Linked DNA regions of Homo sapiens: region 2 is linked to region 1. The links are contacts of gene promoters, found by promoter capture Hi-C in blood cells and fetal thymus (Javierre and others, 2016). All regions are on one chromosome and are shown on one strand. The core of a region is centred on a gene start or on the middle of the fragment in contact, and the rest is flanking DNA. Distances in the headings are between cores, read along the strand shown.

Region 1 (6,215 bases), core at 1,758-4,257:
CACAAATCTCACATTTCTTCATGCTACTTCTCAATACTGTGAATTTGAAAAATTCCAAGAGCTGAGCTAGGTCTATTTTTGCCTAGCACTAATTAAAACACAGGCAAATAGATTATTATTAGTTCCATGAGGATTCAGTTGATTATTTTTTTGTACACCCCTTCCTCCATCATTCCACCACTTTGATCATCAGAGTACTTAGGATTACCTATATCTAAAATGACTGAAAGGCTAGGCATGGTTGAGTGCACCTGTAGCCCCAGCTACTCAGGAAGCTGAGGTGGGAGGCTTGCTTGAGCCCAGGAGTTGGAGGCCAGCCTGGGTAACACAGTGACACGTTGTCATAATAAATAAGTGAGTAGACTGAAAGAACTTTCTCTATACTTTTATATCCTTTTGTAACTCTTATCCTGTTGCTTCCATAATACCACTGAGGCAGGGAGAGACTAAGTACATGGGGAGCAAGGTAAATTTTATTTTTCTGTCAACAGACACTAAAAATGGATACATCAATAGAAAGTCATTTCCCATCATTTCCCTCAAGGTTCCTATGGATAGATATTAAAGGTTCAGTGCTTAAATTTAACATTGCAAAATCCAGCTAAAATTGAAATTTTTATGTAGTGAGTTCAATCTCATCACAGAAGTTTGTAAATGGGAGGAACCTTAGAAATCCTTTAGTCCAGCACTTTCATTTAAGCTTCCACGAAGAAACTGACATAAGACCTACAATGGCTCACTCAAGGTCATCCAGGCTATCGATGCCATTATACATCTTTTTCAAAGGGCTTCATTTTCCATCTAAACAAATTATCTACATCAGAATCCACCTATTTACATAGGGCTTATCTTTCTGATATTGCCTTTGCAATATCCTTGTTATAAAGAGGAAGGAACTGAAAACAAACAAAACAAAACAAGGTTGTCTTGTCCAGGGACATAGAGGAATTGGTAAAAAAGACAATTAGTACACAAAGTGATGGGGTTTCCTATTTGTAGTGTAGCCTTGTAGTCACACTGTGTTCTCCGAATGCCACAATGCTAACCCAAAATTACTTGTCCTTCCTGGGCCTGGATTCCATTCAATTTTATGCCTTGTTTAGTCTAAATGATTTCCCCAGCTTCGACATGTATTTATTTATTTATTTATTTATTTATTTATGCGTTTCATTTTAGAAGTATACTTAAATCTACTCTTTACTCGAGTTTGTCTTAGTTCTAGTGCTGAGGAATGAAGATTCTGGGTAAAAGAAATCAAGATGATGTTTTTTTTTTCTAGGCTTTACATTTCAAGGATTGTTTCTCAAATGGCAACTGGCAGTCTACTCCTCAAATGATGACGTTTTCCACAGGAATTACAATTTAATTGGAATATTTTGTTTTCAATGGGAAGCAAAGATTTCTTTCCAAGAGGATCAGTTTGATAATGTTTTACCAGCTAGTGCTACGAGACCAAATATAAACCAGTTCTGAGAAACAGGAAGTGAACTGACTGGTCTAGTCTGAGTGTCCCTGGCAGTGACGCAAATACAGAAATCAAATTAGGAAAACAAGATATGTGGGTGTGAGGCAATCGATAATAATCCAGGATGCTACAACATAAGCAAGAATGCCTTTAACCCGATGCCATTCATTTTAATAACACCCTGAGCAGTTTGATTTCCACGGAACACGCTGGTGATTAGAGAGCAGCAGGAGCTTGGGTTCCCTAGCAACAGCATGTGCTTTTGAGACAGTCATTAGCCTTTCAGTTAATCCCATCAACCCCTTACCTCTAAATGTATGACTGACATAAAAAAAATGATGTTTTAGAAAGTGCTTTGAAATTTCCAGGAGTGCAATGGAAGGGAATAATCATAATTAAAAAGTTGTCTGGAGAACTACACTCCAGTGAAGGAAGTAATGTTCCTACGTGCCAAGCCTGTCCGTATATTTCCCTGCTCTCAGTTGTAGGTTTCTGAATCCCCTGTGGCAAAGGGCAAGGGAGGTGAAATTGTTCAGAGTTTCAGGCAGTCTTCTCACCTAAAGTGAGTAGTATTGCAATGTCTCTTGGAATCATGGCTCTGAAGATGAGGAGAGAAGCGGGATGGGCAGTTTGTGTGGTGAGGAGGCTGGCTGCAGGTAGGCTGGGAGGGAATGTCACACATAGTTTTCTTTCTCCTTTAAGCCGAATGAGGTATGCTGGTCAAAGGAACTTGGGGAAGGAGGATGGTGAGGGGAATGAAGTTCTTCTTCCTATTGATTGTTTTGTTGCACCAGAGGCTGTTTGTCCAAGGCCACTGGCCAAGAGCATTATTTTCGTGGCTAAAGTGAGGTTGGGCAGGTTTCCCATCCCTTTCACTAGTTTTGAACAAGACAACCCAGAAAGCGCAGCAAGGCTCTGGGAATATGATGTGGGTTGGCTTTTCCTACTCAGCTGCACCTTAAAGCGCCAGGCCGATGGGCTGATACTTCTCAAACCCTGAATCATTGCCTCCAGCTCTGTCCTGGGTTCAGGATGCACCACTCCACCCTCTGTGTAGCTTGGGGTCAACTTCGGGGCGTCACTCCAATAGTAATTATTGCTGCGTTTGGCTGGACATCCTTATTACGGCCTGGGTCCCTCTCAGCTGGAAACTGGGCTCCTTCAGTTTGGCTGGGGTGACTTCTAGCACTTCCCGCCGCCCCACCTTACCCCCCTGCGCGCTCCCTTCCCAAGGCGACCACCTGCACCGCCCCACTTACCATCTGCCCCGCGGGGAGGGCCCCCCGGGCTAGCGGAGCCCTCCCTGCTCCCGGGCGGCTCTGGAGGAGCTCGGTGTTTGCCTCTAGCCCTTCGCTACCGGAGGATCAGGTTCCTCCCCTCCTCCCCCTCCAGCTCCGGCCGCCGCCGCCGCCGCCGCCGCCTCCTTCTTGCATGACACAGCAGAACCGCAGCTGCTGCAGCAATTTCAAGCCATCCGCCCAGGAAGCGCCGCAACCGGGACTCGGGAGGGGTGGAGGGGGCGAGGCAGAGGCCGCGGCCCCAGGGGATCCTTGGCCCCACTGTGCACCACACACTCCTTTCCCAGCCCAGGGGCACGCGAACAAAATGAGGCTCAAGCTGACCAGGCCGAGCCGGAGGAACGCTGGGGCTTGGCAGCAGAAGGGATGGGACCAGAGAGAAGGGTGTGGAGGAGACCCCAGTGAGGGCCAGGACATTTCAGGTAAAGAGAGGTAAGAAGAGGCCCAGAAGTCAAGGGCCAGACTGTGAAGGTGATTAGAGGTCAAAAGAGGTAAGGAGGTAGAGTTGCAAAGAAGAGAGGCCGAGCTGGGAAGGGCGTGGGGGTGGGGGTAGCTGCAGGGGAGGGTGGGGGGTACAGTCTTTGGGGAGGCCCGAGCTGAGCCCCCAGGCAGAAAAGGGGCTGAGTTGGGAGGCAAGGGAGGTAGGAGGAAAGGGATGAAAAGAATTAGGCATGAGATAGGAAGGTAAAACTTGGGAGAGATATTATAGAATTAGAAGGGTTGGAATGGAGCTCATTCATCATGGCTGATGAAGTAAACTGATGAGGTGGAGAGAGACAGAGTCAAGGCAAGGCCAAACGAAAAGATCTTCCATCCCACTCTTCAGTTTCTTGCGAAGTTTTTCTTGATTCCGCCAATCCACACAGTTTCCTTTATAAAATGGAAAAGCATGAACTAAAAAACCCAGAAATAGCTATCTGGCTTAGATTTACAGGATAAAATCTCCATGTCTGTAAAAACTTTAAGGCAGAAATTTGGGATTTATGGTACAAACCCTTTAAGGGACTGTGAGTCAGTAATACCCACAGCACTCAACATTGTGAGTTTCCACACATCCCTGGACTTGAGTGAGTCTTTCCAAGTGTTTGTTAATGGTACAAATGATGACAAAATTAGTGGTTCAAAAATATTAAAGTGCACATGCTTTTTGCTTTCTCTATGTATACAGAGATTACATATATGTATACTTTCTAGCGTCTAGCAAGTATGGTATGGCTAGGGATAATTATGTTTTTCTGATTATTTTGTTTCCCATCAAACACCCCACGAATTTTACAGCAGACCGCCTTCTTGTCACCATTTGAAAGAATGTGGTCAGAAAAGTAATGCAAAAACTGCCACTTTGGTTTTGTCTGTACCTTCCAGGTCATATCTCCGTACCTCACTTCCTGACACAAACAAGTTTTCACTGTTGTCAGCAACAAAGCCCTAATATAGCTGCGGAAGAGAAAAACTGCATTGCATTTTGCCTCCTGCAAGCATCATCAACAGTTACTGGAGGAACGTAATTCCAGAAAGCTTGAAAGCCGTGGTGATGGTAATTATGTATCAAATGCCTGGTTCTATTTCTGTTATTATTGTTTTGTCATTTCTGTTTTCCCAGCGATCTGACTGAACTCGCAGAGGGACAAATCCAGTTTTTCTTTTTGACTTTTGTCAAACTAAATCAGGCCTGATAGAAAACTCATTGCTCTCCGGGGAAACAAAGTAGGAGCCACGAAATGTCATTTTAACAGAGCGTGGGTTTGGTGACTGTAGGAAAGGATTTGAGGACGCTCCTTCTGTTCGGCTTCCTATGTCATGAGCACAGGCTCCACGCACGCACAGACACCACGGCTCCCGGATGCTGTGGCTCCCCGATCGGGGCTCCTGCAGCGCCAGAAGCCCCTCCGGGATGCTTCGAGGGGCTCCCGGTGGGTGGAGGTACGGACGCCGCTGCGGCCGCCGCCGCCAGTCCTGCTGCTGTTGTTGCTGCTGCAGTCACGTGGGAGCCCCTTTAAGTTTCCATAGAGAGGCCTCTCTGGTGTCACATGATGGACATGATATAATGAAACAACATTGTGGAGAGGAAAGCATTAGGGGAGCCCACGGCTACAAAAACAAGTGAGTGAGAAGAGGTGGGAGGAAGAGAAACTACGCCACCTCCCCTGCAGCCGAGTGCACGCAGCAGCCTGGCGTGACAAGTGGGCGACGCCGGGGGGCAGGGAGCCGGGGTCCTTGGCCCTGGCCGGGGACCCCACCGCCCACCGCGCGGAGGACAACTTTTAGCCGGCAGCCCAGACCAGCGCGGCACCTGTCTCCGGAGTCTCCACCGCTCCTCCCGATTCATCCCAGGGAAATTCTCAAGAATACGCTCTACAAATCTACGTGCGCATCATTTTCACCTCGCGTCGCGCCCGGGAGGAAGGAACGAGGCAAGGAGCTAAAGCAGCGTGCGTTCAGCCCTGGGGTAAGTTCGTCGGGTGGGGAAGCCGGTCCCGCAGGACTTTGGGATGGGAATTTTGCTCTCCTTTGCGATCTCAGGGCGTGAAGAAGGCGTCCCCTCCGCTGCCGGCGGAGCTGATCGGCTGGCTAGTCAATTTCCCCTTAGCACGCCCCGTGCGCCCACCCTCGCTCAGCCCGGGGCCCCCTCGCCGTCCCCCGGAAGGGGTCTGCGGTTCCTGGCCAGGACGTTCGGAAGGCGAGCGGGGGAAGGTAGGGCTGTCGCGGGAACCCGGCTTGTGAGAGCGATTTCGCCATGTTTGTGTTGCTAAGAGCACTTTTTCCCCTTTGCTGTGGCTTGATGCCACATGGCTCCTCCGGAGCTGCTGCCGGGCTGAGAGAGTGTTTTTTTTTTTTTTTCAATGTCCGCATTCCAGCTAATGTTGCGCAGATAAAATTCAAACTTGAGGTAAACAGAAGAAGAGGAGGAGGAGGAGGAGGAGGGGAGGGGGGAGGAAGGGGGGACTGTTTCCATTTCGAGATCCCACCTCTTCCCTCCGCGCAGCCCAACATCCCGAACCTAGAGACAACTCTTGCCTTTCTCCCACGTCCCCCACCTTTGCTGTCAACAAGAAATAAAGGCGGGGCGGGGGGGGGGGTTGGAGGTAGGGGGTGGCGTGCTTATTAATTAGAAAGGACGCGGTGTCTCGGTTCTCCACTGGAATCAGCAACTCCCTGGAACTCGGGCCTCTGGCCCCGTCCCTCTTTTCTCCGGCAGGGACGCAGGATGCCTTGGTGCACTCTAGAGACGGGGACCGGAGGGTGCAGCGCGCCTGGGTGGGGCGAAGGGCGCCGGTCTCCTCACGCCCTCTGACTTTAGGATACCAGACAGTGTCTCTTCAACCCCACCCCAGGCGCAGGTTTCCAGAAGGCGGGGTGGGTGGGGCCCCCGATTTCCAGAAGGCGAGTTACCTAGCAGGTGTGTGGGGTGGGCATTGCTATTCGGTAAGTCTGTTGCATGGGGTAGGATG
Region 2 (6,047 bases), core at 1,331-3,830, 1.0 Mb after region 1:
AACACAAGAATGGTTCAGTAACAATAAATCCATTAATACAATCTACCACAATAATAGATCAAAGGACAAAAATTACATTATAATTCCCATAGATGCTGAAAAGGCATTAGCAACATTACTTCTAATAAAATACATTTTTTAAATAAAGTATTTATTAAAAAAAATACTTTAGGCCTGGCATGGTGACTCATACCTGTAATCCCAGCACTTTGGGAGGCCGAGGTGGGCGAATCACTTGAGGTCAAGAGTTCAAGACCAGCCTGGCCAACATGGTGAAACCCTGTCTCTACCAAAAACACAAAAGTTAGCCAGACGTTGTGGCGGGCACCTGTAATCCCAGCTACCCGGGAGGCTGAGCCAGGAGAATCACTTGAACCCAGGAGGCGGATGTTGCAGAGGGCCAAGATCGAGCCACTGTACTCCAGCCTAGGCAACAGAGTGAGACTCTGCCTCAAAAAAAAACAAAAAACAAAAACAAAACAAAACAAAAACTTTAAAAAAACAGTAACAGCTGAATACTTTAACATGATAAAATATGTACGCTTCAATCTAAAGCCAGATCTAATCTTAATAGGAAAGCATTAAAAATATCTGATTGAAGTAAGGAATAGGACAAAGCTCCACTACTATCTTATTGTTTAGTATTTTTGGAAAGTACTAGCGAAATCAATTGAACAAAATAAAGAAATAAGTATCAAAAGTGAAAGGAGGGGCCAGGCGCGGTGGCTCACGCCTGTAATCCCAACACTTCGGGAGGCCGAGGAGGGTGGATCACGAGGTCAGGAGATCGAGACCATCCTGGCTAACACGGTGAAACCCCGTGTCTACTAAAAATACAAAAAATTAGCCGGGTGTAGTGGCACGCGCCTGTCGTCTCAGCTAGTCGGGAGGCTGAGGCAGGAGAATGGCGTGAACCCGGGAGGCAGAGGTTGCAGTGAGCCAAGACTGCGGCATTGCACTCCAGCCTGGGTGACAGAGCGAGACTCTGTCTCAAAAAAAGAGTGAAAAGGAAGGCAGGGCGCGGAGGCTTATACCTGTAATCCCGGGAGGCCAAGACAGAATGATCACTTGAGCCCAGGAGTTTGAGATCAGCCTGGGCAACATAGCAAGACTCCATCTCTATTTTATTTTATTTTTATTTATTTTTTATTTTTGGAGACGGAGTCTTGCTCTGTCACCCAGGCTGAAGTGCAATAGCGCAATCTTTGCTGACTGCAACCTCCGCCTCCAGGGTTCAAGCGATTCTCCTGCCTCAGCCTCCTGAGCAGCTGGGACTATAGGCATGCACTACCACATCCGGCTAATTTTTTTGTGTGTGTTTTCAGTAGAGACGGGGTTTCACCATATTGGCCAAGCTGGTCTCAAACTCCTGCCCTCAAGTGATCCGCCCGCCTCAGCCTCCTAAAGTGCTGGGATTACAGGCATGAGCCAACACGCCAGGCCTATTTAAAAAAAAAGAAAAAAAAATGAAAAGGAGAAGATAAAATTATCATTATTCAGTAATGATATGATTATTTAGCTATACCTGTTATTCTCTAGAAAAACAACTGGGAAACTATTATAGATAATATTAGAATTCTTAACGTGGCTAGGTATAAAATTAATACTCAAAATTTAATAGCATTCTCATATTCAAACAACCACATAAAAGTTATAAAAGAAAGTAGAAACCCCGGCCGGGCGCGGTGGCTCTCGTCTGTAATCTCAGCACTTTGGGAGGCCGAGGCCGGTGGATCACGAGGTCAGGAGATCGAGACCATCCTGGCTAACATGGTGAAACCCCATCTCTACTAAAACTACAAAAAATTAGCTGGGCGTGGTAGCAGGTGCCTGTAGTCCCAGCTACTTGGGAGGCTGAGGCAGGAGAATGGCGTGAACCCGGGAGGCGGAGCTTGCAGTGAGCCAAGATGGTGCCACTGCACTCCAGCCTGGGCGACAGAGCAAGACTCCGTCTCAAAAAAAAAAAAAAAAAAGAAAGAAAAAGAAAAAAGAAAGTAGTAGAAACCCCATTTACAATAGCAACAAACAAGATAAACACCAAGGAATAAACATAATAAGAAATGTGAGGCCTATATAAAAAAATAAACAACTTTTTAATGTTGATAGATACAAAACAATACTTGAATGACAATAAATACATATACTGTTTTTTTTTTTTTTTTTTTTTTTTTTTTTGAGACAGAGTCTTGTTCAGTCACCCAGGCTGGAGTGCAGTGGCACAATCTTGGCTCACTGCAACCTCTGCCTCCCAGGTTCAACAATTCTCCTGCCTCAGCCTCCCGAGTAGCTGGGATTACAGGCACCTGCCACCAAGAACGGCTAAGTTTTATATTTTTAGCAGAGATGGGGTTTCCCCATGTTGGTCAGACTGGTCTCAAGCTCCTGGCCTCAAGTGATCCGCCTGCCTCAGCATCCCAAAGTGTTGGGATTAAAGGCGTGAGCCCCCATGCCTGGCCACATATACTGTTCTTGAACATAAAGAAATGAATATAGACCCTGTTTTTGAACCTCAAAACGATGTCAATTATCTCTAAATTAATCTATAAATATAATACAATACCAATAAAAATGCCAACAGGACAGAGGAGCAGGACTTGGTTAGCTAATTCTAAGCCATATAGAAAAATAAACAAAGAAAACTTCCCAGGAAAACTCTGGGAAGTAGAATGAGGGAAGATGATAACCAAGGAATAGAGTCATTAGGTATAAATAGGTAATCTGATCAATGAAACAGAATAAAAGTCCAGTAATAACCTCAAACTGTAGGAACTAAGTACACCTATAGACAACATTTCAATCAGCAGGGCAAAGCTGAACTAAATGAAGGACACTGCCATAACTGGGCAGCCATCTGGAAGAAAAGTATAGTTGGATTCCCACCTCGACACTTTATTTAACTTACATTTTGTGTGGGTAAGTGCATTTAACTTAAAAATAAAATTACAGAAGTACCTGGAGAAAACACAAGAATATTTAATTTGAATTAGAAATAATAATAAAATAGGAAAGGCCTTTCTTATGACACAAAACCTAGACTCTGAAAAGACTGATAAATTTCACAACAAAACATTTAAAACATTTAATTTCTGATGAAAAAATAGACCATAAACAAAGTCAAAACGCAAATGAAAAACTGTGAAAAATATCTGCAACGTGTCAATGGCTAAGAACTGATTTCATTAAAATACAGAGTTCCTATAAACCAGGGGTCCGCAAGCCCCAGGCCATGGACCCCTGGTACCGGTCCATGGCCTGTTAGGAACCTGGCCACATAGCAGGAGGTGAGTGGTGGGCGAGTGAGCATTCCCGCCAGAGCTTGGCCTCCTGTCAGATCAAGCATTAGATTCTCATAGGAGTGCTAACTCTACGGTGAACTGTGCATGCAAGGGATCTAGGCTGTGCACTCCTTTTGAGTCTCTAGTGCCTGATGACCTGAGGTGGAACAGTTTCATCCTGAAACCATTCCCCCCACTCCTCCACCCCACCATCCCGGTCCATGGAAAAATTGTCTTCCACGAAACTGGTCCCTGGTGCCAAAAAGGTTGGGTACCGCCTTTATAAACAATATGAACCATCCCAATAGAAAAATGAACAAAAAATATAAACAGATCTATAGATAAAGGAAACAAATAAATGGCTCTTTTATCTACCTATTGGAAAGACACTTAAGAAAACTATTCCTATTAAACTGACAATTTAAATAACGTTTGATAACCCACTCCGTTACCAAAAGAACAAGGAAGACAGCACTCGAACAACAACAGGGAAACATAAACTTGAAATTTGACAGAATCTATCAAAATTTAAGCAGTAAACATAAATCCTTTGACCCAGAAACTGTACTTCTACAAATTTATCCTAAAGAAAGACTCTCTCATGTGCAAAAGTTATATATGTATAGGGCTATTCATTGTATCACTATTTGTATTAGCAAGATTGTAAACATCTTAAATACCCATCCAAACAAAGGAATGCTACCATCTCCACAAAGTCCCTCCCGTCCCCCCTGAACCTGGAAAAAATATACAGGAAATGTATCATTGGTTGCTTCTAGGGAAGGCAGTCAATTAGCTGGGGTCAAAGGAAGAAGAAAAACTTGCCTTTTACCATATACTTTTTTGTATCATTTGGATTTTATACACATTACTTACTTAAAATTTTTAAGTTAAGACTACAGTATTATTTTTACCCAGCTTTACCAACTGTTACATTTTTCCTTCTTTTTCTTTGTCAGTTTTCCAGTTCCCATGTTAGCAACAATGTTTAACTGTTTTCCCAGCTAATCATGGTATTTAATCAAACTCACACAGTTAAATCACAACAGCTACCTGAATTCCATTGCCCCATGAACCCCGCGCTCCTGAGCTCTCTGCATACTTATTCTACAAAAAGCACAATTCCCTGTTCGTTACTGGGTGTATAGAAATTATGAGTTAGTAAAAATCCAGGAGTAAAAAGCTATTAATTTCTTGGCCTATGAGGCAAACACATAATCACTAGTGAACTTCAGAAAACAGGAGAAAGGCAAGTGCTTAAAAAAAGGTTTCACAAACTATTGTTTGTGCTGTCGCAATGGATGCAGAGTCTAATCCACTACTTTACATTAAAGAACCTGATTTTGGCCAGGCACGGTGGCTCACGCCTGTAATCCCAACACTTTAGGAGGCCAAGGTGGGTGGATCACAAGATCAGGAGTTCGAGACCAGCCTGGCCAACATGATGAAACCCCGTCTCTACTAAAAATACAAAAAGTAGCACAGTGGCGCGCACCTATAATCCCAACTACTCAGGAGGCTGAGGCAGGAGAACTGCTTGAACCTGGGAGGCAGAGGTTGCAGTGACATTGCGCCACTGCACTCTAGCCTGGGTGACAGAGCAAGACTCCATCTCAGAAAAAAAAAAAAAAAAAGAGAGAGAACCTTGATTTTAACCATCTATCCAGAGTCAATGTGGCTAGAGGATTGAACCACACTAACCAAACTCACTAGACACTAACGTGTTATATATAATGCCAATGCGTTAATTTAGAATTTTAAAAATATATGTATATGTATATGGCATATATATACGCATATGTGTGTATATGTATACGCACATACATCTCAAGAGTATCAAATCATGCATATCAAGGAATCACACACAAATGGTAAAGTATGCCCAAGGAGAGCCACATGATGCTATGAGTGTTACAGAGAGAAGAGACCAAGTCAGAAAGTCACGGAAGGCTTCCATGTAAAAAAACATTTTGATCAAACTGAGATCTAATGGAAGAGAAGTTAAAACAAGAGAATGGAATGAGGAGTAAGAAGGTTCTTGGATGACGGAAAAGCTTGTGCAATGGACCTGGGGCAGGAGGAAGCATGATACATCCAAGGGGGCAGAAAAAGATCAATGACCAAGAGAACGTAACACAGGATTAACTGTAGAGTTAGAGAGGAGTCAGACGACACAGTGCCTTTGAGGCCATGTTAAAGATTTTTGCCTTATCCTAAGAGCAATAAAAAGGTTGTGAGCAGGGATGAGAATGTATTTGGGCTTGCAAAAAGACTGGTGTGCTATATGAATTGAAGGGCAAGAGTAGAAGCACGAATACTGCTTAAAAAGCTCCTGCAGGAGACCTAAGTGAGGGATGGTGGCACCGTGGATTGGAGTTATGGCAGGAGTAAAAGAAACGGACTTGGTAAATGATTACACCTGAAGTGCAACGGAGAAGAAAATATTGAGGAGGATGACCAAGTTTCAAGTTTGCATAACTGGATGGATAAAGAAGCTATCACTGAAAGAGAATGAGAACACTCCAGGAAGACCAGGTTGTTTTGTTTGGTTTCATTGGGGGCTGGATGGAGGGTTGAGATGTAAAAAGTAAGAAAAGGTTCTAAGTATCAGTAACTGGAAGTCTTGGTAGAGAAGGATGAAAAATGGAACATGGGGCTGGCTGGGCGCTGTGACTCACGCCTGTAATCCCAGCACTTCGGGAGGCTGAGGCGGAAGGATCACTTGAGGCCAGGAGTTCGAGCCCAGCCTGGCCAACATGGCAAAAACCCATC

The links. The method cuts DNA at HindIII sites, captures the fragments that hold promoters and counts their contacts. A CHiCAGO score of 5 or more calls a contact.
Region 2: a contact is called between a fragment that was not itself captured here and the fragment with the promoter of LINC-PINT in region 1, in 1 of 17 cell types (neutrophils). The highest score is 6.0, in neutrophils.

Annotation. Positions count from the first base shown.
Region 1 is chr7:131,106,717-131,112,931 of GRCh38, reverse strand. It overlaps LINC-PINT (long intergenic non-protein coding RNA, p53 induced transcript), which reads left to right and starts at 3,007. Exons shown (of 8, transcript NR_170176.1): 1 at 3,007-3,195; 2 at 4,129-5,212. It also overlaps a transcript of MKLN1 not described here. RefSeq lists silencers at 1,442-1,501, 2,652-2,801, 2,882-2,931, 4,989-5,048, 5,069-5,118 and enhancers at 1,219-1,760, 4,155-5,006. The HindIII fragment of the contact is 3,581 bases long and covers 703-4,283 here.
Region 2 is chr7:130,073,482-130,079,528 of GRCh38, reverse strand. All of the region lies in intron 1 of KLHDC10 (kelch domain containing 10), which reads right to left. Among named protein-coding and RNA genes, the nearest start is that of KLHDC10, 6.0 kb to the right of the region's middle. The HindIII fragment of the contact is 5,502 bases long and covers 1-5,331 here.